2 separate regions of the Homo sapiens genome follow, and region 2 is linked to region 1. The links are contacts of gene promoters, found by promoter capture Hi-C in blood cells and fetal thymus (Javierre and others, 2016). All regions are on one chromosome and are shown on one strand. Each heading gives the region's core, a stretch centred on a gene start or on the middle of the fragment in contact. The rest is flanking DNA. Distances are from core to core; before and after follow the strand shown.

Region 1 (3,911 bases), core at 582-3,081:
CTCCACCCCAGCCTGGCTTCTCCACCTGGCAGGGGCAGGGGAGCCGGTACACGGCTGCCAACCCCCCAGTTCATACCCACAGCTCCTGCCACCCAAGGGACCCAACTTTCCTTTCCCAGACCCCAGTGAAGGACCCAAAGAGAGGATTCAACTGACCTCACTTGAATCGGCTATTCCCGGACTGCCTGGCAAAGGCCAGAAGGCATGGAGGGTGACAATGGCCTGAGCCGGGTCCGCATGTCACTCCTGGACCCCTCACCGGGGGCGCAGAGGAGGCCTGGTGAACGTGACAGACCACCCAGTGGGGCGCAGGACGGGGCAGGTCCTAGGAGGCTGCTGGGGCCAGCGACAGGAACCCACAGCTGTCCCTGGCCATCACCCCCACTGGCCTGATGTGGGCTTCGTCTATTGCTGCTCCGAGGGTGGGGCTGCCCTGGCCCAAAGACCCGGGAGGCCAGTGACCCCATGAGCAGTGGCCTGTGGAGGCGTGTGTTTGCACCAGATCCCCTAGAGGATCACTGTCCCCTGGGCAAGTGTTTCTGGAAAGCCAAGGTAGGCCCTGCCCTGAGACCTGCGCCTCCCCGCCAGGGCAATGGGAAAGCCCAGCTTTCCAGGGACTCCACTGCCACCCACACAAAACCCTCTGAAATCGCTGTTCGGAGGCAGCCTCCAGCCATGCGGCCCTGCAGCAGGGGGCAGCTGTGATCCACGTGTCTGGGGGAAAGTGTAGACTGGGGGCTCGGCCTCCACCGGCCTCTCCTGGCCGTGGGTGTACCCACCCAGGATGGCGGCTTCTTCGCTCAGTGACCGTCCCTGCTGCGGTGCTGGGCAGTGTCGCTTGGAGACATTTGTGGTCCCCAGCTCCTTCCCTCAGCCCGGCCCTGTCCCCACTGCTGAAAGAGCCTGGCTTGGATGGAGCTTGGCAGGCTCGGGAGTGGGCACCAGGGTGGGTCTGTGCCCTGAAACTCAGAAGCAGCCTGGAGGTGAGTGGAGTTGTAGGTGCTGTCCACAGCCAGCTGGCTTTGTCCAAGGAAACTGGGCCCATCATGGCCGGAAGCCCCACAGTGAGGGGGACTGTCCCAGGCAACCCTGCCTGCCCACCCTCCAGTTCCCACAGGGCCCCTCACAGAGAAGCCCACCCGCAGGGCTCCTGGGCCAGGCCAGGCTTGGTTCTGGATGCAGGAGGGGTTGAGGTAGGGCTGGGGGAGGAATGTGGAGTGTGCAGTAGGCTGTTCTTCCCACACGGCCCTGCCCCATGTAGGAAGAGGGAGGCGGGGAGGGGAGGGTGCTTGTGTGCAGTGGCTGTGCCGAGCCTTCCAGGACATGCAGGTGCCATCCTGGTCCCGGGGCTGCAGTGGGCGCACTCAGCCTCTCTACTCCTGGCACCCCGGACAGGGACTCCTGGGAGGACACAGCCTCTGGGAAGTCACCCTGCTCCGTGCTTGCCTGGCCCGAGAGTGGGCAACACCAGGCCTGAGCTGCAGAGGAGCTGGATTTTGTCTTTCCAGGACCCCTCCCTGCAGCCTTTCCAGGACCCCTGTCCTGCCTTGCCTGTCTGGGGACACACGGACAGCCGCTGTGCCGCGCCAGGCCCCAGCACCTGCCTGGGAGCTCCTGAGTGAGTGGAGCCTGGCTCTGAGTGCTGCTATTGCTAAAAGAGGTAAGACTGGGGTTTCCTGCCACTCCCTCCCTCAGGAAGGTGACGAGGCCATGCTGTCATCACCAGTAAGATACCCCAGCCCGGTTGGCTAACCCCTAGCTCAGCCCTGTTTGTGGTTAGGGGAGTTCTAGACAGAACATAATTAGACCCCTGCTACTTCCTGAAACCTCAGCTAGGACTGCAGGGAGGGGTGCGAGGCTAGCCACGCAGGCGGGGCCCTGGGTAAGTCGCTGGGCTCTGCGTGCTGGGGAGTGGGCCTGGGGGGCCAGGCTCTGGGATGGGGCTGGGGGCTGGGAGCTGGAGGCGGGCAGAGGGGGATCTGAAGGCAAAGGTGATTTGTTGGTAAAGATGGAGGCTTTGTTGAGGGTTCTTAATCTGGGGTCCCTCCCGAGAGAACCCAGGACCCCCAGTGACCACAGATGTGATGGGGCCGGAGGATTTGGGGGAGAGGGACAACAGTTTCCATTGTATCTTTGTCACCGCCACCTTCCTGGAGACTTTCTTCTGGAAAAGGCTTCCCTGGCTACTGGTCCAGATGGGGGTGAGTCAGGGGGCTGGACTTTGTCCCTGGAATCTCTCCTTGGCCACTTGCTTCCGTGATTGGTCGGGGGGCACTGAAGGGCTGGGCTTCTCTCTGTGGGGCCTGTGCTGCTTGTGGGGTTACACAGAGGGAAAAGCAGGGCAGTGGGGGCTGTGCTGCGGTGAGTGGCAGTTGGCCCAGTCACGTGACAAGATCCTGGAGCTGGGCAGGTCACCGGCCTTTGGAGTGGCGTTCGGCGCACCAGGCACAGCGGGGCGGGGGGCCCAATACCTTCTGTCAAGTGCATGACGTGGGTCTGTACCACTGCAAGGGACTGGGACTGACCACTGAAGACTGGCCAGTTGGGCTGAGCACAAAATGATATTTCAGGAGATTGGCCAGGCCGAGGTGGGAGAGCAGAGGCTCCTGGAAGAAGATGAGGATAGGGGCTGGGCACGGTGGTTCATGCCTGTAATCCCAGCACTTTGGGAGGCCGAGGTGGGCGGATCACTTGAGGTCAGGAGTTTGAGACCAGCCTGACCAACATGGTGATACCCTGTCTCTACTAAAAATACAAAAATTAGCCGGGCGTGTTGGCACACGTCTGTAATCCCAGCTACTTGGGAGGCCGAGGCAGGAGAATCGCTTGAACCTGAGAGGCGGAGCTTGCAGTGAGCCGAGATCGCGCCATTGCACTCTAGCCTGGGCAACACTATCAAATTGGGAAAAATAAGAAAGTTGACAATGGGCTTTGGATGGGTGTGGTGGAGCAGGGAGGTTGGAGCTGGTGACTCCACATTTCCCTCCCTAGGGTTTGTCTCAAACGTGACGGCAGAAAAGAGGTCATAGGTTTGCCTGGTGCCAAAGCAGGTGGGAGTAAAAGACGGAAATGGCTAGGAATGGCCAGCAACCGTGAAACAGCTTAGAAATTACAGGCAATCCAGCCAGGTGCGGTGGCTTACGCCTGTAATCCCAGCACTTTGGGAGGCCAAGGCAGGTGGATCACCTGAGGTCAGGAGTTCGAGACCAGCGTAACCAATATGGTGAAACCCTGTCTCTACTAAAAATACAAAATTAGCCGGGCGTGGTGGCACACGCCTGTAATCCCATTTACTTGGGAGGCTGAGGCAGGAGACTCACTTGAACCCAGGAGGTGGAGGTTGTGGTGAGCCGAGATCGTGCCATTGCACTCCAGCCTGGGCAACGAGAGCGAAACTCTGTCTCAAAAAAAAAAAGAAAGAAAGAAATTACAGATAGTCCACAAGACAGACCTCAGCAGCCTGAGGAGCTGTTTTTGACAAATGGGCTGGAATGAGGAACTGCTCCCTGCACATGGCAGGGGCCAGGGCTCCTTCTCTGTCCTTTTGTGTCTGTCTGAAAAGTTCCATCATAAGTTACAAAACAGGCTGGGCGTGGTGGCTCACACCTGTAATCCCAGCACTTTAGGAGGCCGAGGCGGGCGGATCACCTGAGGTCAGGAGTTCAAGACCAGCCTGACCAATATGGCGAAACCCCTTCTCTACTAAAAATACAAAAAATTAGCCGGGCATGGTGGCAGGCGCCTGCTAATCCCAGCTACTTCAGAGGCTGAGGCAGGAGAATCACTTGAACCCGGGAGGCAGAGGTTGCAGTGAGCCAAGATCGTGCTATTGCACTCCAGCCTGGGCAACGAGAGAGAAACTCAGCCTAAAAAAAAAAAAAAAGTTACAAAATAGATTTTAAAAGACTGGA
Region 2 (4,520 bases), core at 1,510-4,009, 150 kb after region 1:
AATAATCCCAACTGAACCAAAATATCATACACAGTTTGAAACTTGGACAACACAGGTTTGACTTGCATGGGTCCCCTTACACGCAAACTTTCTTCTGCCTCTGCCATTCCTAACACAGCAAGACCAAGCCCTCCTCTTCCTCCTCCTCCTCAGCCTACTCATTGTGAACACGACGAGAATGGAGACCTTTAGGATGATCCACTTCCACTTAATGAAGTGCAAATATATTTTCTCTTTCTTATGATTTTCTTAATAATATTATGTTCTTTCTTCTAGCTTACTTGATTGTAAGAATATAGCATATAATAAAGACAACATAAGATATGTGTTAATCAACTGTTTGTGTGATCTGTAAGGCTTCTGGTCAACAGTAGGCTACTAGTCATCAACTTGGGGGGAGTCAAAAGTTATACGTAGATTTTTGACTGTGTGTTGGGGGTGCAGTGGTTAACGGTACTTTTTATACATTTTTGAGATTGGATAGGGCAATAATTATATAGGATTTTTCATCCGTGCCCAAGAGTGTGCTTTTTCTTTTGTGGTACACACTTGTCCTGTCTTTGTATTGAGATTATGATAGAGTCCTACAGTGAACTAGGTCATGTGCCCACTTTTGCCTACATTTTGAAGTTTGTAAAATGGGATAAAATATTCTTTTTAATTTTGGCAGAACATGTAAAATTGTCTTAGATTTTTGACATCTTTGTGGGAAGATTTTAACTTCTTAATTTCTTCTAGGATTATAGGACTCTTTGGGCTTTCTGTTTCTCTATGAATCAAACTTGGCAAATAATGTTTTTCTAGAAATGGTCCATTTTGTGTAATTTTCCAAGTTGCCTTGCTGTGAGATCACTCATGTTGCCCTCTGCTGCATTGTAGAGCAGCCCTCCTCTCATTTCTCAGTAGGGTTTTGTGCCTCTTGCCGGTCTTTCCCTTCAGAGATCTTGTGGCCATTTCATTAATTTTTTCAAGAAATCAAATTTATATATGTTAGTTCTGCTTTTAGTTCTAATTTAGTTTTAGATATTTTTAGTTCTAGTTTTGTTTTGTTTTTCATTTATTTATGTTTCACCTTTATCTTCATCCTTCTACTTTCTTAGTATATTCCTATTGTCATTTTTAGACTTCCTTCAGTTGGATGCTTAACATTTTTGTTTGTTTGTTTCTTTTTGAGACAAGAGTCTCGCTGTGTGGCCCAGGCTGGAGTGAAGTGGCACGATCTTGGCTCATTGCAACCTTTGCCTCCTGGGTTCAAGCAATTCTCCTGCCTCAGCCTCCTGAGTAGTTGGGATTACAGCCCTGCGCCACCATGCCCGGCTAATTGTTGTGTTTTAGTAGAGACAGGATTTCACCGTGTTGGCCAGGCTGGTGTCAAACTCCTGACCTCATGATCCGCCCACCTTGGCCTCCCAAAGTGCTGGGATTACAGGCATGAGCCACCGTGCCCGGCCGGATGCTTAACTTTTTAATTTTCAGCTGCTCTTCTTTACTAATGTAAGTGTGTCAGGGATACATTATTATTTAGTTCTAAATATTTTACGTTTTCTTTCATTCATGAATGATTTAGAAATCTGTTATAAGGTTTCCAGATGTATTTTAACACTCTTCCTCAGTGAGTGATTGAGAGTTGAATTACATTTGGCTGAGAGAGTGAAGTCATATGACACTGGGTTTTGAAGTGTGTTAAGCCCTGCCTTATGTCTAAGCGTGTGCTCATTGTCCTAAGTGGGTTTTGAAGTGTGTTAAGCCCTGCCTTATGTCTAAGCATGTGCTCATTGTCATAAGTGGGTTTTGAAGTGTGTTAAGCCCTGCCTTATGTCTAAGCGTGTGCTGATTGTTGTAAGTGCTCCACACGTACCAGAGCATAATGTGTCCTCTCTAACGGTCACGTCTAGATATGGCTTTAAATCCAGCTCGCGAAATGTGCTATTGGAATCTTATTCACCTTTTATTAATGTTTTATCCGCTTGACCTGGCAGTCACTGAGAGAGTTGTGTTGAAATCTTCTTTTATGATAGAATTATCAATTTCTACTTGCAGTCTTCTTCATTTTTTCCCCATACTTATGGCTGTTTTCAGGTACATACATGTTTTGAATCTTTACATCCTCTGAACAATACTATTCATTATTATATACCGGCCTTCTTTTCCCTAATTATGGTTTTTGTCTTAAAATATATTTTTTTGAAAATCAATTTAGTGCTGGGCATGGTGGCTCACACCTGTAATCCCAGCACTTTGGCAGGCCAAGGCAGGTGGATCACCTGAGGTTGGGAGTTCGAGGCTAGCCTGACCAACATGGAGAAACCCCCGTCTCTACTAAAAATACAAAATTAGCACAGCGTGGTGCCGCACACCTGTAATCCTAGCTACTCGGGAGGCTGAGGCAGGAGAATCACTTGAACCCAGGAGACGGAGGTTGCGGTGAGCCGAGATTGCACCGTTGCACTCCAGCCTGGGCAACAAGAACAAAACTCTGTCTCAAAAAAAAAAAAGAGAATATTAGTTTAGCCACATCAGCTTTCTTTTTATTAATACTTGCCTGACCATAGCACTTGTAATATTATTATTTTAAACTCCATAAATTAAATGTTTATAAGGATGATATATTTAACTACTATAATTATATATTTGTCTAACTAGATATTATTTATCTAGTGAGAGTGTGTTTAGAATTATCCACTTTTAATGATTTCCTTTTAAAAATACTTTTATTTATTTATTTATTTTTTGAGACAGAGTCTCACTCTGTAGCCCAAGCTGGAGTGCAGTGGCATAACTCAGCTCATTGTAATCTCTGCCTCCTGGGCTCAAGCAATTCTCATGCCTCAGCCTCCTGAGTAGCTGGGACTCCAGGTGCACGCCACCATGCCTAGCTAATTTTTTTGTATTTTAGTAGGGGTGGGGCTTCACCATGTTGCCCAGGGTGGTCTCGAATTCCTGAGCTGAGGCGATCCACCCATCTTGGCCTCCGAAAGTGCTGGCATTACAGGTGTGAGCCACAGTGCCCAGCCACTTTTAGCAATTTCTTTATTCACTATTCCTTCTTTGACTTCAGCCTCTCCCTCTGTGATCATTGTCCTTCTTCCTGAAATATATCCTTTAAAGTCTACTTGAATATTAGTTTAGCTGGGTATAAAATTTTGGGTTGTCAATTGTTTTCCTTGAGTCAAGATGTGTTGGTAAACTCTTAGTTGTTATGTAACATAAAAATATTTCTAATTTTCCTTTAGTATTGAAAGATCATTTTTCTGGGTATAGAATTACAGATTGACAATTATTTTCTCTGGAAACTTTGAGGTCTTTAGGGTCCCATTGTTAAGAAATCCACCACCATTCATTTTCATTTTGGAGACAAAGTCTCACTCTGTCGCCCAGGCTGGAGTGCAAATGGCATGATCTTGGCTCATTGCAACCTCCACCTCCCAGGTTCAAGTGATTCTTCCACCTCAGCCTTCCAAATAGCTGGGTTTACAGGTGCACACTACCACACCCAGCTAATTTTTGTATTTTTACTAGAGACGGGGTTTTGCCATATTGGCCAGGCTGGTCTCAAACTCCTGACCTCAGGTGATCCACCCACCGCTGCCTCCCAAAGTGCTGGCTGGGATTACAGGTGTGAGCCACCATGCCTGGCCACCACCATTCTTTTGTAGAGAATCCTTCTTTACTATTGTGGCTGTTTTAAACAAATTTTATTATCTACAGTATTCCTCAATGTTACTGTGATGTAACTGTGTAGTTTTACTTTCATTTATTCTGTTTGGCTTCCCTTATGTTTTTGTATCTTCTGTGGATATATGTTGTATTCATTTCTAGGGTTGCTGTAGTGAAGTTCACAAACTGAGTAGTTTATGCAACAGAAATGTATTGTCTCACAGTTCCAGAGGCTGGAAGTCCAAACTCAAGGTGTCGGCAAGGTTAATTCCTTCTGAGGCTGTGAGGGAGGATCCTGTGGCTCTCTCATAATTTCTGGTAGCCCCAGGTGTTCTTTAGCTTATAGATGAAATTCTCCCTGTGTCTTCATGCCTTCCCTCTGTACATGTCTGTCTCAAATTTCCCCTACCATAAGGCATCAGTCACATGGGATTAGGGTTGTCAATAAAAAGAGTCAAATTCTGTAAACTATTTGAAGAGATTTATTCTGAGCCAAATATGAGTGCCTAATGGCCTGTGACACAGCCCCAGCAGATCCTGAGACATGTTTCCAAGGTGGTCGGGCTACAGCTTGGTTTTATACATTTTAGGGAGGCATAAGACATCAATCAATACATGTAAGATGTACATCGGTTTGGTCTGGAAAGGTGGGACAACTTGAAGTGGGGGCTTCGAGGTCAGAGATGGATTCAAGGATTTTCTGGTTGCCAGTTGGTTGAAAGAGTTAATATAGGCCAGGCATGGTGGCTCGCACCCGTAATCCCAGCACTTTTGGAGGCCAAGTTTGGAGGATCACCTGAGGTTAGGAGTTCAAGACCAGCCTGGCCAACATGATGAAACCCCATTTCTACTAAAAATACAAA

Evidence for each region. The method cuts DNA at HindIII sites, captures the fragments that hold promoters and counts their contacts. A CHiCAGO score of 5 or more calls a contact.
Region 2: a contact is called between a fragment that was not itself captured here and the fragment with the promoter of GPR132 in region 1, in 1 of 17 cell types (endothelial precursors). The highest score is 5.3, in endothelial precursors.

What each region holds. Positions count from the first base shown.
Region 1 is chr14:105,063,350-105,067,260 of GRCh38, reverse strand. It overlaps GPR132 (G protein-coupled receptor 132), which reads left to right and starts at 1,831. Exons shown (of 4, transcript NM_013345.4): 1 at 1,831-1,882. RefSeq lists enhancers at 683-752, 963-1,132, 808-1,325, 3,003-3,142, 3,253-3,352 and 1 more. The HindIII fragment of the contact is 11,012 bases long and covers 1-3,911 here.
Region 2 is chr14:104,910,862-104,915,381 of GRCh38, reverse strand. No RefSeq gene overlaps it. Among named protein-coding and RNA genes, the nearest start is that of PLD4, 12 kb to the left of the region's middle. The HindIII fragment of the contact is 8,040 bases long and covers 1-4,520 here.